3 separate regions of the Homo sapiens genome follow, and all the other regions are linked to region 3. Evidence: promoter capture Hi-C in 16 types of primary human blood cells and fetal thymus (Javierre and others, 2016). All regions are on one chromosome and are shown on one strand. Each heading gives the region's core, a stretch centred on a gene start or on the middle of the fragment in contact. The rest is flanking DNA. Distances are from core to core; before and after follow the strand shown. Region 1 overlaps LEMD1 (LEM domain containing 1). Region 2 has its middle 5.9 kb from the start of KLHDC8A. Region 3 holds the start of SLC60A1 (solute carrier family 60 member 1).

What was found. The method cuts DNA at HindIII sites, captures the fragments that hold promoters and counts their contacts. A CHiCAGO score of 5 or more calls a contact.
Region 1: a fragment that was not itself captured here is called in contact with the fragment with the promoter of SLC60A1 in region 3 in 1 of 17 cell types (M1 macrophages); the score reaches 5.1 in M1 macrophages.
Region 2: a fragment that was not itself captured here is called in contact with the fragment with the promoter of SLC60A1 in region 3 in 2 of 17 cell types (endothelial precursors and M0 macrophages); the score reaches 5.2 in endothelial precursors.

What each region holds. Positions count from the first base shown.
Region 1 is chr1:205,388,512-205,391,211 of GRCh38, forward strand. The region is part of intron 4 of LEMD1 (LEM domain containing 1); the gene reads right to left. Among named protein-coding and RNA genes, the nearest start is that of LEMD1-AS1, 17 kb to the left of the region's middle. The HindIII fragment of the contact is 306 bases long and covers 1,105-1,410 here.
Region 2 is chr1:205,361,435-205,364,134 of GRCh38, forward strand. No RefSeq gene overlaps it. Among named protein-coding and RNA genes, the nearest start is that of KLHDC8A, 5.9 kb to the left of the region's middle. The HindIII fragment of the contact is 960 bases long and covers 940-1,899 here.
Region 3 is chr1:205,567,725-205,570,424 of GRCh38, forward strand. SLC60A1 (solute carrier family 60 member 1) reads left to right here and starts at 1,290. Exons shown (of 10, transcript NM_181644.5): 1 at 1,290-1,575. The coding sequence starts at 1,346. SLC60A1-AS1 (SLC60A1 antisense RNA 1) reads right to left here and starts at 1,581. Exons shown (of 4, transcript NR_152721.1): 1 at 1,405-1,581. RefSeq lists enhancers at 1,571-2,120, 2,121-2,669. The HindIII fragment of the contact is 4,650 bases long and covers 1-2,700 here.

The DNA of each region.
Region 1 (2,700 bases), core at 8-2,507, 180 kb before region 3:
CTCTAGGAGGTAATTATTACAGTCACCGTTTTACAGAGGAGGAAGTAGAGGCTTAGGGAGCTGAGTTATTTGCCCTAGACAACACAATTCATAAAAGGCATAGCTATAATTTAAACCCAGATATTCTGGCTCCAATGCTGTAAAAATACATTTCTATTATTATAGAAGAACTCATCATTGAAAATATGTCAAAACATGTTTTTAAAAACTTTTCATTAATTAATAAATTATCAAAATCATTAATTTCCTACGGAAGTAACATTTTTAGTCAATAGTTCCATTCTTAATTTCTCGGATGAATTGACATTTTCATAAGGGTGTTTTTTTCCAGGTGGACTATTTTGTGCTAATTCTGGCCTACTTAGGTATATCACAGTCAGTCTGAAATAATATTGCATATGACATTTTATGTCATACTGTATCACATTACAGTTAACTACAAAACACTGGGCTAACATCCAGAGCCAGAAAGAACAATAATCATTTTGTATTCTCATTAAAATCACCAAAAAGTACATTTGCTTTCTTTTTTTTTTTTTTTTTTTTTTTTTTTTTGAGATAGAGTCTTGCTCTGTCGCCCAGGCTGGAGTGCAGTGCCACAATCTCGGCTCACTGCAACCTCCGCTTCCCGGGTTCAAGCAATTCTCCTGCCTCAGCCTCCCGAGTAGCTGAGACTACAGGTGCATGCCACCATGCCTGGCTAATTTTTGTATTTTTAGTAGAGATGGGGAGTCACTATGTTGGCCAGGCTGGTCTTGAACTCCTGACCTTAAGTGATCCACCCACCTCAGCCTCCCAAAGTGCTGGGATTACAGGCGTGAGCCACTGTGCCCAGCCTACATTTGGTTTTTTAAAAATAATCTACCTTGACTAGAGCCATCACTAACTGTCCATAAAGAAATACAAGTTTGTTTGCATTTCCACAAGACATATATTTACCGTGTAGGCTTGAAGTTGGCCAAAATTTCACAGGCTGACACCTGCAATTAAGGGTAGTCAAGAAAAGGGTGCTGAGAGCCCAGTTTCCTACCCTTTCTTTCTCTTATTCTCCCAAGACTCCTTACCGCTGGACTTGGAGAAGTCAGAAGGCAGGGATGTCCCTGAAGCTTAGGGATGGCATTCTCTCCAAACTGAAACATAATACATTCTCCAATTGCTCTAATTCAATAATGCAATTACTTCTTAAAGGCCTATATGTAGAATTGGACACTTTTACAAATGACATAGCAAACTGGAAGTTATGACCTGATTACAGGCAGAAAAAAGAAAAACTTCCTTTTGATTTACAGACCTTTAAAACTGAGTTAACTCCAAATCCCTTTATTGACTAAAAATTATTAAGTTGGTAAAAGATCTATAATCTTAGCAGACTTTTACTTCATTGTTTTTGCCTGAATCCTGATATGATAAAGCTTTTATTTAAAACGTTGTGTTCTCTTAACCCAAGTAATGATTTTGAATTAACTAAAAGGCTTTAAAAATTATCTGCACCACATTAACAAAAGCAAGGTTAAAAACCTTATGATCATCTCCATTCCTGGTTTTTAAAAAATCTTCTAGCAACCAGGGGAGGTGGCTCACGCCTGTAATTGCAGCACTTTGGGAGGACGAGTCAGGTGGATCACTTGAGGCCAGGAGTTCGAGACCAGCCTGGCCAACATGGTGAAACTCCACCTCTACTAAAAATACAAAAATTAGCCGGGCATGGTGGTGTGCATCTGTAATCTCAGCTACTTGGGAGGCTGGGGCAGGAGAATCGCTTGAACCTGGGAGGTGGAGGTTGCAGTGAGCCGAGATTACGCCACTGCACTCCAGCCTGGGCGACAGAGCTACACTCTCTCTCTAAAAAAAAAAAAAACAACAAACTTTTAGTAAACCAGGAATAGGAACTTCCTTAACTTGATAAAAGACATGTTCAAAAACCTACACCATAAGTCATACTCAAAGGTAAAATATTAGAAGTATTTCCTTTAAAATCAGGACCAAGGAAAGAATGTCCACTGTCATCGCTCTACTTCACTAGTATAATAAAAAGTCTTAGCCAGCACAGTAAAACAAAAAGAAATTAAAGCTATACAAACCAGGCTACAAAATAATCTGCAGAAAAAGTATTACAATTGCAAAGAGTTTATTGTTGTAAAATCAATATACAGAAGTCAACTTCATTTCTATACACCAGTAACAATTTAAAATATGCTTTAAAAGAGGTCCTATTCCCAATGGAGCAAAAATTAAAAGCCTACCTACTAATAAAGCTAACAAAAGATGAGCATATCCTTTACTAAGAAAATTATGCAATCTTACTGAAGGACATTAAAGGAAATTTCAATAAATGTAAAGAAATTAAAATTCCCATTTAAATACACAGGAACACAAAGATGGGAACAATAAGCAGGGGATTCCAAAAGGGGCAGCGAGGAAGGCAAGGGCTGAAAACACATGTTTATGTTTACTACCTGGGCGATGCGATCATTAGAAGCCCAATTCTCAGCACCGCACAATATACCTGTGTAATACCTGTGTAACAAACCTGCGCAAGTACCCCCTGAATCTAAAATTTTAAAGTAAATAAATAATCCATTAAAAATACCGATGTATATATGGAAACTTGATATATGACAAGAACTAACATTGCAGCTCAGAAGAAAAAAAAATGGACCATTGGAAAACAGTATTGGGAACAAATTGGGGTAGATGTAC
Region 2 (2,700 bases), core at 170-2,669, 210 kb before region 3:
GTTTAAAATTAAGATTTAAGTGAGTATCTTTTACCCACTGTCTATTTTTTACCCCGTCTATTATTCCTAGAAATTTCTCTTTGTTTTTGGTAGAGTTGGGATCTCACTTTGTTGCCCAGGCTGGTCTTGAACTCCTGGACTCGATTGAACCTCCCACCTCAGCCTTCCAAAGTGCTGGGATTACAAGCATGAGCCACCACGCCCGGCCCAACATTTTTATTTCCTGAATCTGGCAACCTCATGACAAGAGCAAATGACCACTCTCATACTTGGAGTTTCCTGCAGCCTGCCCAACTCCAAAGTTGCCTTGTGAGTTCTGAAAGGAACTGGGAATGGCAGCCCTTGCTTGGATGTCATGTCAGAGGACTAGGCACAGTGGTTGACACCTGTAATCCCAGCTCTTGGGAGACTGAGGCAGGAAAATGCTTGAAGCCAGGAGTTTTAGACAAGCCTGGGCACCATAGTGAGACACCTGCAACACCTCCCACCCCCAATCTCTATCAAAAAAAATTAGCCAGGGACAGTTAAATGTGCGTGTAGTCCTAGCTGCTCAGGAGGCTGAGGCAAGAGGATCACTTGAGCCCAGGAGTTCAAGGCTGCAGTGAGCTATGATCACACATCATTGCATTCTAACCTGGGAGATAGAGTGAGACCATGTCTCTTAAAAAAAAAAAAAAAAAAAGAGCGGCGCTTCTCAGAAGGCAGTAGAGAGACCTTGAAAGTTTTTGAGCCAAGAAGTGAAGTGATCAGAGCAGTGTTTGGAATATTAATCTGGCAGCAGCATAAACAGTGTTTAGTCCAGGAGAAGAGTTTCATGATAAGGAGATCACATAGTCTTCCTTTGTGATTATTTGTGGGGCACCCACTATGTGCCAGACACAATGCTAAACACCAGGGGCATGATGGTGAAAAAGAAATGTATAGTTCCTCTCTTAGTGAAGCTTATGAATAAATTAACAAGCAATTGATTTCAATAAAGGGAGGTGCATTTCATCAGAGAAGAACTTGGCCTACTTAGAAGATTATCAAAATAGCCTACTGGTGAGAAGATGAGGACCTAAATTAGGGTCATGGAAATGGGAATGTAAGATGTTTTTGCAAAGCGAGATTTTAGAATATATTCAGGACATGATCAAGTGATTTGACTCTTAATTACAAGCATAGTTGGAGCAGGAGAAAAACAGATCATTAAAATCCAGAGATAACCCCAAATGCCAATTACTCAGGCGTTTCATGCTTCTCTCTCATCCATGGGTTATGACTGTATTTGTGTCTTTATGCACACACAAAACAGTAAAGCATAGTGGTTTCGAGAAAGAGCTTCAAAGACCTAAATGTAAGAGCTAAAACTATACAACTCTCCGGAGAAAACATAAGCATAAATCTTAATGACCTTGGAGTAGGCAATGTTTTCTTAGATATGACAGGAAAGCGCAAGCAACAAAAGGAAAAAATAGATACGTTGTAGCATGTATCAGTACTTTCTTTTTTGCCTAACAATATTTCATTGTATGAATATTCCATGTTTTATTTATCTATTCATCAGTTGACAGGATTTCTTTTAGGGCTGATAAAATGTTCTAAAATTGATTGTGGTGAGGGTTGCACAAATCCATTTGGCAAAAGCCATTGAATTGTACATTTTAAATGGCTGAATTGTGTGGTGTGTGAATTATTTCTCGACAAAGCTGTGTTTCTTTTTAAAGAGCAAAGCCTTGAGCATCAGATAGATATGGGTTCATATCCTAGTTCTCTGCTTGACCCTGAATAAATCAACTTTCTGAGTCTCAGTTTCTTCATCTGTAAAATCGGATTATTATAGTACCTATTTCACAGGACTGTTGAGAGGATTAAATGAAATAATGTGTGTAAAATACTTAGCACAATTCCAGGCATATAAGCTTTATTATTATTTTTTTTATGTTGCCTAGGCTGGTCTCAATCTCCTGGGCTCCAGTGATCCTCCCGCCTTAGCCTCCCAAAGTGCTGAGATTACAGGCGTGAGCCAGCGCACCCAGCCTATAATAAGCTTTTAATTAATGTGACTTATACTAGTAAGGTTGGATGATTAGCAACTTTAGTGTGTGACCACAGACCATCCTTAATTCTAGCACCTTAAGTTATACAAGGGTATTCCCTGAAAACGTCATGGGACTAGGTATACATTTAGGGAAGTAACAGCTGTGCAATCCCACATATCATTTCAAAGCCAAAAAATAGAGTTCTCAGTTGTCAAAACACAATCCTCAGAATTAAAAACCAAAACTAGACGACACTCAGAGTTAAACCAATTCTGGCTTTGATAGCCAAACTCAGTAGGGGGTATTTATATTATCTTCACATCCTTTGAGTGGAATTCTATGAAGATATCTTAGGTAGATATGTGATTGACTAAAAGATGGTATAACCAGGAACAGAGCAGTAAGAAAAAGTTCTGTCATAATTTTCATAGCTTCCACATGTTTATTTTCCATCATCTAAATGTGAACTGTAAAAATTAAATGCTTGTATTTACACAAACAAGTTATACTGTGAAAGCACAGCTGCCTGTGTACATATGAAAAGATTTGTTAACTAGTTTGATTGGAAAATAATGTAAAAAAAATCTTAAGTAGCAACTTTCACAGTTTAAATTTCTTTTATTAATCCTCTTGTCCAACTTAAATGAAGAAAGGCTTACAAGTAAAGAGAAGATAAACA
Region 3 (2,700 bases), core at 40-2,539:
TGAGCCAGAGGGACCCTGGGGCTCCCCCTTCTCTGGGGCTCACTGTCCAAGAAGGGATAGGGCAGATGCAGGGGTGCGGCTATGAGATGGGACCAGTACCTGCAAGAGAAATTGGTTGCCCCACCTCATGCCAAGTTGTCTTGGGGACACCCGCCCACATACCTCCTCAGTCTTTTCAGCCCTGGTCCCCCTGGTGGGCCAGTGGAAATGATGTCATGGCTCCTGTCATTACCAGAAGACCTGGGCAGAGGGGACACCGCAGGGCCTTACTGTTCTGCCTCCAGGGGCCAGATCCTGGCTCCCTTAGGAGCGGGAACACACAGAACCCACCAGCCAGCCCGAGGCCACCTAATGAAGGGACAGCCTAGGTCAGCTGCAGGCTCCTCGAAGGACACCCAGTCTAGAGAATAATCAACCCCTACTCACTGCCAGGGATTTATCCATGGAAGAAAGAATTTTCCCCAGAACTCTTTTTAAATTTTTTTTTCTAGGAGATTATTTCAGAATTCCTCCCGGGGTTCCTCCAGGACGCGGCCCTTCCCTCTCTGCCCTCCTCCAACTAGTTAGAAGGAGAGAGAGAGAGTCAGCATAGACCAGCGTCATCCTCCTCCTTCCCGCACCTGGCCAGGTGGGGAGGAGGGCCTCATCTCAGGCCCTTCCAGGGAGCTTAGTGTGAGGAAGATGTTGAGTTTCTAGGGTTCTCCTTCTAAAGGGCAATGTGATTAACCTCTTGGGGTTCTAATGAAAGCCATGCACGAATACTCTCCCAAGGAGAAACATATGTACAACAAGATTTTGCCTTCTGTTCTGGGGGAAAGGGGGGTGCCGTTAGACCCTCGAAGTCCATCTGTGAAGCGCCTAGGTTTAAAGGGGTCCGGGTTTCCTCCACTGCCACAGCCCGGGTGCGGGGAGAGGGCCCCTAGCCTTATCCGGAGATACAGGATGTCTCGGGCTCTCCATCTGCCGGGCTCTAAAATGGGCGCTCGGTCCCTGGGGGCTGCATCCGGAGGCTGGGGGGACTGGTCGAGGGAGAGCGGGCGGGGGGCAGCGCGGCTCCCGGTTGGTCTCCGCAGCCGGGGGAGGGCGAGCATGTGCGCTCGGGTAGGAGGGGGAGGCCGGCGCCTGGCACCGCACGGGGAAGGCGCGGGAGCGGACGCACTGCCCACCCGCCGCAGAGGCGCCCCCGCCGCCGCCCGGGCCCAAGGGCGGGGCCCCTCGCTGGGGCGGCCCCTCCCCGCCCCTCCCTCCCCGCCGCGGGCCTCCCCAGCCCGGCCGGCCCTCCCGCGGGCGGCACTCGGGCACCGGGCTCGCCGGGACCAGATCCGCGAGCCCGTCAGCCTGCGCCATGGGCTGCGACGGCCGCGTGTCGGGGCTGCTCCGCCGCAACCTGCAGCCCACGCTCACCTACTGGAGCGTCTTCTTCAGCTTCGGCCTGTGCATCGCCTTCCTGGGGCCCACGCTGCTGGACCTGCGCTGTCAGACGCACAGCTCGCTGCCCCAGATCTCCTGGGTCTTCTTCTCGCAGCAGCTCTGCCTCCTGCTGGGCAGCGCCCTCGGGGGCGTCTTCAAAAGGACGTGAGTGCCGCGCCCGTGCGCCCCCGCCCCGCGGCCCCCGGCACCCACCCTCGCCGGGCCGACCCTTCCCTCCCGCCCCGCGACCCGGCCTCTCCCCCGGCCCCGTGGGGCTGCCCGTCGCCCCCGCCTCCCGGCCGCGACCACCCCTCCCAGCTCCATCTTGGCCGAAGAGCTGCCTCCCTCCCTCCCTCCCTCCCCCGCAGCTCTCCCTGGAAAACTCTCTCCAGAGACTGAAGGTGACTTCTGGCTTATTTATTTGTCATCACTCATCCCTGTGAGAGGATAAAACCAGTTCCCACCTGCTTCCCCCACCCACCGCCCCGTGGGGAGAGGAGTGATAGAGTTTGCAGAGGTGGGGAGGGTGCCCCTCTTACACAGCTCCTCTGGGGTTTGTCAGTAGCCCCGGCTGCCGGGGGCGGGATTGGCAGTGAGGTGGAAGGACCGTGGGAGGGCCAGCTCTGTGGCGGTGCAGGGTGCTGGAGGTGGCCTGCGGCTTGACTGATTCCCAGGGCCAGGCTCCACTGTAGGCAGCTCCACATCAGCTAACACAGGCTGTCCCTTCCCCCGGGTAGCCACGGGGTTTAGTGGGTTCTGTGTAGCCCTCCTCCTGAGGCAGCCAGAACATGGTTCCTGCATGGGCCCCCGAGACACACAGGACCTCACCGTTAAGGCCAGGTTGGGAGGGGCAGGGCACTTTACCCATAGCTTGGTAAGGTGACTCTCCAGCCCTGGTGCCAAGGTTCCCCTCCACTCCCCACCCACCTCATCCTACTCCTGCTGGGCCTCTGCCCCACGACAGGGCTCTGGACTCTCCCTGGCACCACCCCCAGAAATCCCCCTTTGACACTATTGCAGAGCCTTATTCTCTCGGCTTAAATTGGACAGGGCCACCTCCGGGCTCCCTTGTGGAAAGACAGCCAGATTCACTCTCCCAGTGCAGCATGGAAAACAGAGACCCATAATAGAATAGGGAATAGATGACTTGCAAGCCAGAGGCTGCTGCTTGATTTCCCCAGTCCCAGCTCCTGGCTGAGTGGTTTCCTAGATCCCATGGACTCAGTCGAGCAAGCAGCCGGCCTGGAGAAAAAACCGCAGTTGGGCTATCCCAGAGAAACCTCTGGAGGG